Linked DNA regions of Homo sapiens: region 1 is linked to region 2. Evidence: promoter capture Hi-C in human tissues and cell types (Jung and others, 2019). All regions are on one chromosome and are shown on one strand. The core of a region is centred on a gene start or on the middle of the fragment in contact, and the rest is flanking DNA. Distances in the headings are between cores, read along the strand shown. Region 1 overlaps LOC105373418 (a long non-coding RNA gene). Region 2 holds the start of IAH1 (isoamyl acetate hydrolyzing esterase 1 (putative)).

Evidence for each region. The method cuts DNA at HindIII sites, captures the fragments that hold promoters and counts their contacts. A contact is called where the count stands out against the background at its distance.
Region 1: a contact is called between a fragment that was not itself captured here and the fragment with the promoter of IAH1 in region 2, in 1 of the 25 tissues and cell types used here (aorta).

Annotation. Positions count from the first base shown.
Region 1 is chr2:9,695,758-9,702,108 of GRCh38, forward strand. The region is part of intron 3 of LOC105373418 (a long non-coding RNA gene); the gene reads left to right. Among named protein-coding and RNA genes, the nearest start is that of YWHAQ, 68 kb to the left of the region's middle. The HindIII fragment of the contact is 7,679 bases long and covers 375-6,351 here.
Region 2 is chr2:9,470,837-9,477,319 of GRCh38, forward strand. IAH1 (isoamyl acetate hydrolyzing esterase 1 (putative)) reads left to right here and starts at 3,715. Exons shown (of 6, transcript NM_001039613.3): 1 at 3,715-3,811; 2 at 5,151-5,203. The coding sequence starts at 3,731. CPSF3 (cleavage and polyadenylation specific factor 3) reads left to right here. Exons shown (of 18, transcript NM_016207.4): 17 at 507-603; 18 at 2,080-2,265. The coding sequence ends at 2,181. RefSeq lists a silencer at 3,487-4,256 and enhancers at 3,526-4,293, 4,774-5,334. The HindIII fragment of the contact is 18,322 bases long and covers 1-6,483 here.

The sequences.
Region 1 (6,351 bases), core at 2,964-5,463, 230 kb after region 2:
GGATATGAGCCACCCGCCCGGCTGCATAATCACTTTTTAATTTTTCAGTGTGGACCCCATCACTGACTTCTCATTCTGGAAGGTGGAAATTAAGCTCATTTTCCACCCTCTGCTACCCCTACACATGTGAATCCTTCAGTCAGGCCGAACCCCTGTTGTCTCTAAGGGATGGTACCACACCGTGTCCAGGAGGCCAAAGAAGAGACCCGGATCCAGTGAACGAAACGTAGGGTTTATTGAGGGCTTACCTACAGGACAGTTCAGGAGTGGCAGCTGGACAGGAGAACTGCTACTGTTTGTAAAAAGCGTGCAGTTTATGTAGCATTTTCACTTAGCAACCTCCACCTAGCAACCTTCATTTAACCCAAAACAAAGGGCTTCTCGATTCCTTGTACAACCTGTGTTCAAAGGAACGGACCAGGGGTTCAGATGCCATTTATAGATAAGGAGGGAATTTTCAGGTTGGCCACTCCAAGATTCCTTAGCTCAGAATGCAGAACACACACAGGGTCACTCTCAGGGTGTGCTTGAGTTATTGCTGTCAGGTGCATCTGCTATACACCTTCCTACACTCTTTCATCCCTATGGAATTATGATATAATTTTGGTTAGATTCATAGCCACCATATGTCATTAAGCCATGGAAATACTTTAGATCAGTTAAAAAATATAGTAAATATCATGACTAGTTTTCCTTCTCTACTCAAATTTTTGTTATCCTTGAAGTTAATAATTGTCTTTTTATGGTTTAATTTTCTGTGTGCTTATCACCAATTCAACTCCAAACTTTTCACCAGTTGTCTCAAGGTCCTCTCGAGACATTCCAATGTACCAGGCACTGCTAGGTTCATCTTCCTGAAATGGTCAGTCTCTCCAGGCACTTTCCTACCTGCGCCCTGTGTCCAGAGCGCACCTGTCATCCCAGCATCTGCCTGTGCCTCATCTAGGGACCACCCTCAGCTGCCTTTCCATGCGGGGGTGCTTGTTTTCTGTGCCCAGTGACTCTTTCTTGGGTTACCCCTCCTTTTAAAGGGGGGCATTCTCTAGAGGTTTCCCGAGAACGGAGTCATTGCAGGTAAGCCTTTTGGGTCCTTGTGTGTCTGAACGTGTCCTGTTCTAACCTCTCCCTGATGAATAGGTTAGCTATTTGTAGCATTCTAGATCATAAACCAGTATCCCTTGAATTCCAAAGTCATTGCTCTCCTATCTTTTAGTTTCCAGGGTTGCTATAGGATATCAAGCCCATTCTGGGCTGGGTGTGGTAGCCTGTAATCCCAGTAGTTTGGGAGGTCAGGGCTGGTGGATCACTTGAGGTGAGGAGTTCAAGACCAGTCTGGGCAACATGGCGATACCCCATCTCTACTAAAAATACAAAAATTAGCTGGGCGTGGTGATGCACACCTATAATCCCAGCTACTCTGGGAAGCTGAGGCATGAGAATCACTTGAACCCGGGAGGTGGAGGTTGCAGGGAGCTGAGATCGCACCTCTGTACTCCAGCCTGGATGACAGAGCGAGACTCTGTTTCAAAAAACAGGAAAAGAAAAAGAAATGAAGCCCATTCTACTTCCTAGCTTTTGGAAAGTGACCTGTTCCCGTCTCTGGAAGCTTGCAGGATCTTCTGTTTGTCCACAGTATTCTGAAATGTCCCAGAGATGAGGTCTGGTGTGTGTCTGAATGCCTAATGAGGAAAGGTGCACTCCGTGGCTCAGTTCTCTAGAGAAGACATTTCCAGTCTCTTCACCGAGGCAAAGACCCAGCTTCAGACCTCAGGTCTGCTATGGGGGCAGTGGTCTGAGCATTCAGCATTCATGTATTCGCTTAAACCTGCCATCTGTGGTGAGAGTGTATGTCCTCAACTGTGCCTGCATCCCCCAATCCCAAGAACCACTTTTACTCTTCTCCTGAGAAGAGACCTCCAATCTTCTCCTGGGGAGGGAAAGGGCAGGTGCTCATGAGTGAAGAGGGGACCTTGGGACTCAACTACTTTTCTGGATCCTTTGAGTCAATCCTCCTTATTTTAGTAACCCGTTTACTTGAGTGCCAGAGGTTCTTGATACTGTTGATTTCTTGAGAATTCCAAGGTGTGCATCTAGTTGGTTCTCAATTTTCTCTAGTGTGGGTTGGAGATTTTGCTTTCTGGGGCCTGCTAAGTCTGTTACCATTCTTCCATCTGCTTGCAAACATCGTGGTCTGCTCTCCTGTTATTTGTGTGTGTGCACGTATGTGTGTGCATGTGTGTGGTTGGATGTATGTCTGTGCATATGTGTGTGTGTGTGTGAATCTGTTTACTATCATTCTGGTGGACTTTTGGGAGGGAGTGAAATGAGATGTTCTGTCTGCCACCTTCCCCAGCAGCCTGGTTTCAATATTATGAACAAAGTCCAAAGGCCTCAGAGCACAGAGTTCACGCCACGAACCACCCAGTGGTTTTTCCATCACAGAGAGATGGTGAGCGCCTTTTCAGGCTGGGGGAAAGAGTTTAGAGAGAGTCTGAAAAGGAAGTAAGTGGGTTGCTATTGTGAGTCCCTGAGAGAAGGGTCAGAAGGCTGGCGAGGGTGAGGGTGGGAGCAGCACAGACCCCAGGTAGGTTGAGCAGGTGCTCTGCACGCTGTCTGGGACTCTGGGAGGAGAGGGCTGTGCAGGGCCTCTGTGCTGTCATGGAGCAGGATGGCAGGGAGACAGGGTGGCATGGTAGGAACAGCAAGATAAGGGCCTGAGAGATCCCTGCTTGCCGAGCGTTCCACAGCTGAGTGTTCCAGAAGACCGAGGGAGGGGACACCAAGAGGAGAAACTAGAAAACCAAGCAGAGTGAGCCCCACCTTAGGCTGAGGCCAGTGAGGGCAGAGGCCAGTGCCGGCATCAACAGGTGGGGACATACACTCTCCAGGGCACCAGATGACCCTCAGGAGAAGAGAAAGGGGACCCAGAGTCATGAAGCCATAAAGTTGTCAGAGCTGGGGGACCTGTAAGAAACATCCAGTATCCCAATTTTTATTTATTTATTTATTTATTTATTTATTTATTTATTGGGATGGAATTTCACTCTTGTTGCCCAGGCTGGAGTGCAGTGGCACAATCTTGGCTCATCGCAACCTCTGCCTCCCAGGTTCAAGCGATTCTACTGTCTCAGCCTCCCAAGTAGCTGGTATCACCCGCCACCACGCCTAGCTAATTTCTGTATTTTTAGTAGAGAAGGGGTTTCACCATGTTGGCCAGGCCGGTCTCGAACTCCTGACCTCAGGTGATCCACCCACCTTGGCCTCCCAAAGTGCTGGGATTACAACAGGCATGAGCCACTGCGCCCGGCCCCAGTGTCCCCATTTTAAAGAGGGGATTCGGGGGTTCAGAGAGGGAAAGAGACTTGTCCCAGGCTGCTTAGTCAGTGCAAGACACTGTTCTTTTTGCGATGTCCCTGAAGAGGGTTGATAGAGTAATGGTTTACTCATCCAGGAGTCCTATCCTTGGACTGACCCGGTTCTGTCTGTCCTGCTCTGTTTGTCTAGATCTTCATCAAAGTTATTTAGCTAAAGCTTATTTTCACCAGTTGCCCCAAGCATACGTCAGTATGGTCACGTGACTATACAAGGAGCTATTCTATATGGACCATAGGGGAGGGGCAGGCGTTCACCAACTGGAGGAGAAAGGACATCTGCAGCAGAAGGTGTTCAAAGGTGTGCACAGAAGTGAGGAGATAACGAACAGTATGTTTGGGGAACATAACTACCTTGGAGCCAGGATCTCACATTGTTCAGCATCCCGAGTGACACACTGAGTGGCCCGGGGCAGAACCGTGTGTTCTCGAGCTGTATGCATCATCATGGGCCCACCTGGGGGGACTTCTGATCTACACTTCTGCAGAGAACGTTCCCTACAGCCACGGACCAAGGCATCTGAAGAAGGCACATGCCTATCTGTGACTGGTTCCACAGTGACTCATCAGGTCTTAAGTTTTTTTAAAAAAGGCTGACTGAGGAGGTTTCCAGACCTGCACTTTTCCAGATGGTTCTGTGGGCTTTGGCCTGAGGTTGGGCTGAACCCTGCTGGAACACGGGCGATTGGAAAGGTTCACCGAAGAGTGAGAACAACTCCAAACCTTCTTCTACCCACCCCTCCAACATGAAAAAGTAAAAAGACTAGGAGAGGAAATGGAAACTCTAGCACTTCTCTTTTGGTGAAACCTTATGAAAATAAGTCAATTTCTTGCCTTTGTGCTTCCTTTGGAAAGACTTTTTAGCCTTTGGAGTCTGATGAAGCTAGGTATGAGTTTGGCCCCACTGCTGTCTGGCTAAGAGATCTTGGACAACTTACTTAACTTTTCTGAGCCTCAATTGTTGGGAGAATTGAGACAATGTAGGTGAAGTGCCTTCTGGGTCTATACTTGAGGTAGGATAGGGTTTAATATCAGTGTTCCTCTTCGTATTCCACTAAGGTAGCTTTTTAGCTTTCTTTGACAAGTCAGTTCTCTAGTTCTCCGTTTTCTCACTTGTAATTAGGACATCGGATTGGACATTCTCTAAGTTCCTCTCAGCGCCAGTATGCTATGACATTTTTTCTAAAATAAGGTTTGTGGACTACTTAGAACAGAATAACTTTAAGTGTGTTTTAAAAACACAGATTCCTGGGTTCCTCTCCAGACCTGCTGAAACTTGCACTTCCCTTGTGCTTCCTCATGCTTGGCAATCTCTGTTCTGTTTTACATCTTATCTACCTTGCCCATCTTTATAACTCAATCTAAAATCTCAATGCTGGGCTAATGGTAGGGCCTCAATATGTCCTTGATTACTACAACTCGCTGCCTAGACTGGGAACTACCTTTGCTGCCATCTTGGTTTCTTCGAGGGTCAGTCCTCTTGTCTTCAATATGTGTAGTGATTCCCCCAAAATAGAAGACAGCTCAGGTCAGAGAAAAAGCCTGGGCATCTATGAGGATGAGTGGGAAATAGGGAGTCTGGAAAAGGAGAGTTTTGGATCATGGACCCTCAGAGGCTCCTTCCCAGTCTGGAATCCTGAGACTCTAGTTTCCACTGAGGGAACTGATTCCACTGTGCTAGTTCACATCACCTCCTCTGTTTGTCAACTCCCAGCTTCCATTTCCAGTTTATTCCTTTCTCTTCATTACTACCTATGTGACAGACTGGTGCTGTGAGATTAGTGTGTTTCATGCGCATCCATTCTTTGTTACATCTTGAGATCTACTCTTATTTGTGCTCGCATAACCCTAGTCTATCCCCCGAACTACTGTCTGGAATCCCTCTGCAGGACCATTTCACAATTTATTTATGCCTTCTCCTATTGATGGTTATGTACATGGTTTCCAGTTCTTCCCTATTACAGACAACACTGTGATCACCCCCTCATACCTGTTGCCTTGTGTACTCAGGTACAAGCATTTATCTAAACACCTAGAAGGAGCCTTGCTGGGTTACACTTGCAGTTTCCCTAGATACTGCTGAATTGCCCTCCAAAATGATGGTGTCAATTTACACTCCCATCCATTGTATATGGGAAGACCCATTTCCCTCAACCTTTCCAACACTTGATGTTGTTAGACTTTGTTTTGCTAATCTGATGGGTGACCGTGGTATCTTGTTGTAATTTGCCTGTTTCTGATTCCTAATTCTGTTGAGTAAACCCATTTGGGTTTCTTCTACTGTAAATTACCTAGTCATATATTTTGCCCATTTGTCTGTTCCTTGTTATTTTATGGGAGTTCTTTAAACATCCTTGATACCAATCCTTTGTCTATCATGTTTTGCATATATTTTCCTCCAATCAATACTTATGTTTTAATTTTGTCTATGGTGTCTTTTATCGGTGACTTTTGAACAGGGGAGTTACACAGGGTTGAATTTTGAAAGACCTCTCTCTTAAACCAGAAGTGTATTGATAGAGCATATATAGATCCACAGAGCAATAAAACAGAGAAAAGACCTGTGCATATATGGGAACTGAGTTTACGATAGAATGGCATCATACATCAGAGAGGAAAGGACATACTATTTGATAAATGGTATTGAAGCAATTAGCTATTTATATGAAGTTTTAAATTCTGATGTGGTCAAATTTGATAATTTTTTTAGCCTATAATTTTTGCTTCTGGTGTCTGATTTAAGTATATTTTGTCTATGCCAATGTCATAAATATTGTCTTCAATGGATGTAGTGATTCCCCCAAAATAGAAGACAGCTCAGGTCAGAGAAAAAGCCTTGTAGTGAAACTACAAGTCTATGCTTGATTTAAATTTTCTTCTAATTATTTTACAGTATTTTTGTCACATTTAGGTCTTGAATTTATTTTTGGATATGGTGTGAGGGAGGGATATAATTATACATTATTTCATATAGATAACT
Region 2 (6,483 bases), core at 2,465-4,964:
GATCATTCTTGAATAAAGCTGTGTATTTTCCCTGTTTTATAAACTTAATAAGCTGTATCAAGGCAAATAAGAAGCTTGTCTCAAAAGTAAATACAGGCTGGGCATGGTGACTCCTGCCTGTAATCCCAACACTTTGGGAGGCCAAGGCAGGTGGATCACTTGAGGCTAGGAGTTCAAGACCAGCCTGGCCAACATGGTGAAACCCTGACTCTACTAAAAATACAAAAATTAGCTGGCTGTGGTGGTGCACACCTGTAATCCCAGCTACTAGGGAGGCTGAGGCAGGAGAATCACTTGAATCCGGGAGGCGGAGGTTGTAGTGAGCCAAGATTGTGCCACTGCGCTCCAGCCTGGGCCACAGAGCAAGACTCCATCTCAAAAAAAAAAAGAAAAAAAGTAAATACAGTATTCTGCTTTAGAACTAGGACCTATCTTCAGTTTTATTTTTTCCTCAAATATATAAAGCCGGGCATTTTCACTAATCCTGCATTTCTGCTTATTTTCAGGGACATATTTGGAGAAGACTGTGTAAGTGTAAAGGATGACTCTATTCTTAGCGTCACAGTGGACGGGAAAACTGCCAACCTTAACTTGGAGACACGGGTATGTAGCTGCTCTTTCCTACGTTTCAAGACATTTGGGAAATAAAGTGAAGGCATAAATAATCTGTGCTCTCACACTCAACAGTCTACTGTTGCATATTGGCATTTGCTTCCAGTGTTTCCAACATTTTTTTCACATTGTTCTTTTTATATTATTATGGTTGAAGTTTTCCGTGTTTTTCCGGGTTACTGCATAGTACAAGGTTCGCGTGTATGCCACTCCATTGCTGTCCTCTTCCATAATACAGCTTAGTTCACCTCATCCCTTCTCTAGTTTGGCATCTAGTTGACTCTCCATTTTTTAAAGAAGCCGCTCTTCTGTTTGCACCAGCAAGATCCAAGTGGATTTTCCAAACAGTTCAAAACCAGCCCGGGCAACACAGTTAAACCCCATCTCTACTAAAAAATACAAAAAAAATTAGCCGGGAATGGCGGCAGCTGCCTGTAGTCCCAGCTACTCAGGAGGCTGAGGCAGGAGAATTGCTTGAAACAGGGAGGCAGAGGTTGCAGTGAGCCAAGATCACATTACTGCACTCCAGCCTGGATGATAGAGCGAGACTCTGTCTCCAAAAAAAAAAAAAAAAAGAACTAGAGGCCAGGCGTGGTGGTTCACGCCTGTAATCCCAACACTTTGGGAGGTCAAGGTGGGTGGATCATCTGAGGTCAAGAGTTTGAGACCAGCCTGGCCAACATGATGAAACCCCATCTCTACTAAAAATACAAAAATTACCCAGGCGTGGTGGTGTGCCTGTAATCCCAGCTACTTGGGAGGCTAAGGCAGGAGAACCCAGGAATCACCTTAACCCAAGAGACAGAGGTTGCAGTGAGCTGAGATCACATCACTGCACTCCAGCCTGGGCGACAGAGCGAGATTCTGTCTCAAAAAAAAAAAAAAAAAGAAGCAACTAGAAGATTATTAGTGAGTTTCAGTCAAATTCAGTACCAAATGTTGAGTAGATAGCCACATCCATTCCTTGCCAAGTAATTTGTGTGGCATAGATGAACTTCCCTGGAGTATCATTTACTAGATCAAACTGTGGGCTTTGATGTAAATGTAGTTTACTAGACTTTCCCCAGTCTTTCACCCCAGCCTCAAGTCATCACTAATTAGGACCGTGCTGCTGTCAGGAAGCACTGCACGCCCACAAGTGTGTAGGGCGGCCGTTCTGTTTCATGGTAATCAGTCCCACCATGACCTCTGCACACACAGATGATTGTTCTTTTTTTTAGTTTGAGACCCGGTCTCGCAGTGCCGCCCAGGCTGGAGTGCAGTGGTGCAGTCACAGCTCACTGCAGCCTCAACCTTCCCGGCTCAGTGATCCTCCCACCTCAGACTCTTATCTGGGACCACAGGCACACGCCACCACAGCTGGCTAATTTTTTATGAGATGATGGTTTTTTTAAAGAGTATTCATTTATCTTCTATATAATCATTATAGACTTAATTCTAACAGTCTTGTTTGTGCCTCACTTTCAGACTGTAGAATGTGAAGAGGGAAGTGAAGACGATGAATCCCTCCGAGAAATGGTGGAGCTGGCTGCACAGAGACTGTACGAGGCCCTGACGCCAGTTCACTGAGACTGTGCCTGTATATGAACTTTGAAAAAATACTTGACTCTACTTTTGTTACCTAAAATAAAATGCATTCGTTTCTCTGGGGGAGCCTGTTTACTTTTAATGTCAAATGGCCTTTATTTCAACAGCCTGAATACTGCTAAATTGCTAATTAATTTGTCCATTATTCTAGAACTAACTACTAGATCAACTGCCCATTATTTTAGAATTTTGGATTCTTCTTCCAGGCATGTATGTGCAGCTCCCATTGAAACCATCAAGATCTGCCGATAGCAACCGCTGCTGGTTACCCTCTCCTCTGGGGTAACCAATTTGAGTTAATAATAAGGATTCTAAGTTGCACTTGAATCTTTTCTGTCTTCATCTCCACTGCTGCTGTTCGAGTCCAAGTCTACTCTCCCCTCTGAATTCCTGCAACCACCTCCATCTCCTCCCCTATAGCTGATTCCTGGAACAGACCTGGCCTCAAGCCTCTGCTGCTTGAAGGCCTTAATGAAGTCCTTGTGATAAAGATGAAGTCCAGGCACCTTTGCTTGCTCTAGCAGGGGCTCTCAATCTGGGCTACCCGTGGGAATCACGTGGGGTGCATCACAAGTGCACCTGTGCCCAAGTCCTGCCACCAGGAGGTGAGTTAGTCCGGCTGGAATGAGGGCCCTAGGTTGGATCTTAGTTGTAAAGCTCCCCCAGGTGATCCAAGCGAGCTTGGGACGAGCAACCTAAAGAAAGTCATGCTCTACGCCCATCGCCCCGCCCCAGGGAGCGGGGTCGGCCTCTGCGCCGGCGCCCCTGGCCCTTCTGTTACTCATCTACAGCTCCGTGATTTCAAGGCATCCTTCCCACCCGTTCGTTTTTAGCTCGGCTGCCGAACTTCATTGCACAGTTGAGGTAAGAACGTTGCATTACAACCACGTTTTAACAGGTGAATCCCTTGGAAGTTAGTCAGTGCTCCGTGTCCGCGGGGTTCTGCATCTGCGCATCCACCCCACGGCGGGAAAAAGAAAAGCGGCCGGCTGCGCGCGCACTGAAGGTGCAGCTGCTTTCCCTTGTCATTCGCAGAACCACGAGGTACTGCCAGGGTTTCCGCAGTGCCTGCGTCCTCGTGGGTGTTACAGGCCCTCCAGAGTGACGCTGGGCGCAGGAGGCCGCGCGCGCATCCCACGACCTCTTCCAGGGGGGCCTGGAGCAGCCCTCCGCCCCACCGAGAGCCAGCTGTGCTTCCCGCCGCGCGTCCTGAGGTCACACTCCTGCCCTTTGCCGAACGCACCTGCGCCCGCGGAGCGCGGGGTGGGCTTAGAAGGGCCCCCAACCGCTTTTCTTCCGGGAACCACGCAGCGGGACGCGGGCTCCGGACTCCCTGGGGGCAGCCTTGCTGTGGGTGAGCAAGCGCGGAGGCCGAGCTTCTTGCAAACGGACTCCAAGGGGCAACGACCTTCGCGCGTCACCAAAGTGACTGCGTGGGTGCCCACGAGCCCGGCTCCCGCAACCCACGGGCGGCCACTGCGCAGGCGCCTCTCGTGGCTGGCGGCCCCGCCCCGCCCCGCCCGGCTGCTCCATGGCGCTGTGCGAGGCCGCGGGCTGCGGGAGTGCCCTGCTCTGGCCTCGCTTGTTGCTCTTCGGGGACTCCATCACCCAGGTACGGCCGCCCCGACGCTCGGCCTCCCGCCCCGGCCTCCCTGCGGGGTCGCTGCCGAGCAGGCCGAGGCTCCTCGCCGTCCTCTTCGGCGCCCGAGACGGCTGGGCCGGAGGCCTGGCCACGCCCGTGGAGACACCGGAGGAGTGGCGGGTCCCCCAGTGGCTGCGCCTTCCGGGCCCGCGGCGTCCCGGAGGTCACGACGGCGTCCGCGAGAGCCCGGGCTCCAGGCACAGACGCGAGGGGACCCGGCCGCGCTGCCCGCCCCGCGCCGCCTCCCACCCGGGTCGAGATGCGCGGTCTTCCCCTCAGCGCCCTCCTGGGCAGCGGCCTTTCCCCTCCGGGTCCGGGTTAGCGGCCGCGGGCGACCGCGCGCTGTGTCCCAGGAGGCCCCGCGGCCAGCTCCGGGCAGAGGCGCCAGGAGCTCTCTCGCCCCATTCCCTGCGGGCACAGGTGGGGCCGTTAGGGGTTGACCTTGGAAGTAAAACGCCTTCAGGAATTAGGTAGAAAAGGACCATCCGTTCATCCAAGATCATCTCACCTCCCATGAAGGGAACGGTCTTCTAAATGCAGGTTCTTACTTCGGGGAGGGAGTAGAAATTCCATTCCTGTGTGTGTCCTCTTCTCAGACAGGACTTGCTTCACCAGGCTTTTGTGTATACGCCAGTAACTGGTAACATTATGTTTAGGCATATGGGGCAGTCAGAGCTGCCGAATTCCATGGGAATGTGTATGAAAAAGTGTTCACCCTCAGCTCGGTAACCAGCAAAGCAGTGAGGCGGTGTGGCCTTCATTTCCTCACTGACCTTTGACTTTATTTCCTGAACTTAGATTTCTGTTTAGCTTTTTTTTTTTTTTCTTTTTTTCTTTTTTTGAGACGGAGTCTCGCTCTGTCGCCCAGACTGGAGTGCAGTAGCGCGATCTCGGCTCACTGCAAGCTCCGCCTCCCGGATTCAAGCGTTTCTCCTGCCTCAGCCTCCCGAGTAGCTGGGATTATAGACGTGCGCCACCACACCGGGCTAATTTTTGTAATTTTAGTAGAGACGGGGTTTCGCCATGTTGACCAGGCTGGTCTCGAACTCGAGACCTCATGTGATCCGCCCGCCTTGGCCTCCCAAAGTGCTGGGAATACAGGCTGTTTAGCTTTTGATAGAGAAAAATCCCCCTCTGCTAAAGTGCTGCCAGGTGTACTTACCTGTAATCCCCAAAATGACCTCCTGGAGTGAAGCAATCAAAGCCAAGAAGGGAGCGCCGAGAAAACAGAAGTTGCCAATCAGAACTGCCCTCGCTGAGATGCCCGGTTACAGTCATTAGTAGTAATAATGGGCTTTTCTTCCTCCAGTTTTCCTTCCAGCAGGGTGGATGGGGAGCATCGCTGGCTGACAGGCTGGTCAGGTGAGAATGGTTTCCGATACTTGAGTTCTTATGGATGGAAAATGTCTTAGGGATCCGTCTTATGGATGAAGGATAGTTCTGAACAGAACATTCCTCCTTTATTAATTTTGCTTGCCTCCCCTAATCAGTATATAGGAGAAGGAACAGAAAACATTTACTCTTCACTCAGTCTGACCAATTAGATATTTTAGGGTTGAGCACTGATGGCTGGGTAGACTCAGACAAATCAAGGAAATGGCCAAGGCCTCTTCCCTAGTCAGGGGCAGACAGATCCAAGTCCAGCTGCTATGACTGCAGAACTTGCAGTTTCACTGCTACACCACACTGGTAGGAAGCTACTTTGCCTTTTTTTGAAGTGCTGCCATGACTTAAGACTCACCTTGTCACAATTCTACCGCACTTTGTTTTGGTTTTTGGTGGTTTTTGTTTTGCGACAGGGTCTCTTGTTAGGCGCGTCCACGTGAAGAGACCACCAAACAGGCTTTGTGTGAGCAACAAGGCTGTTTATTCACTTGGGTGCAAGTGGGCTGAGTCTGAAAAGAGCAAAGGGAGATGGGTAGGGCAGTACTATAGGATTTGGGTAGGTAGTGGAAAATTACAGTTAAAGGTGGTTATCTATTGTTAGCAGGGGAAGGGGGTCACAAGGTGCTCTGTGGGGAGCTCCTGAGACTCATTGTCCAGGGGAGGAATGCCACAAGGTCGATTGATTAGTTAGGGTGGGGCAGGAACAAATCACAATGGTGGAATGTCATCAGTTAAGGCAGGAACTGGCTGTTTCACTCCTTTTGTGGTTCTTCAGTTGCTCCAGGCCACCTGGATGTATACGTGCAGGTAACAGGTTATGACGGCTTAGCTTGGGCTCAGAGGCCTGACAACTCTGTCACACAGGCTTGAGTGCAGCAGTGTGATCAGGGCTCACTGCAGCCTCCACCTCTGGGGCTGAAGGCATCATCACCTCAGCCTCCTGAGTAGCTGGGACCAACAGGCACTCGCTACCACACCCAGCCCAGCACTTCATTAAAGTATTGTGATTTCACTCTGTAAAATGGCTAGTCGCATTTTATAATCATTACACACACAAACAATCTCTTAGAAATAAGGCTGAGTTTCGGTGGTGGTTCTGCAGTTTATAAATGCCACCTGAGAACTTTGAGCAGTGTCAGAAAGTGTCCCCTTGTGCTGCTTTGGAGCCGCTGCCTGACGCTGTGGCCTGCAGTTCTCCGCGGGTGCCCCAGCTTCTCTGCTTGGTTATGCATGTATGGGAATGTGAATACAGCAAA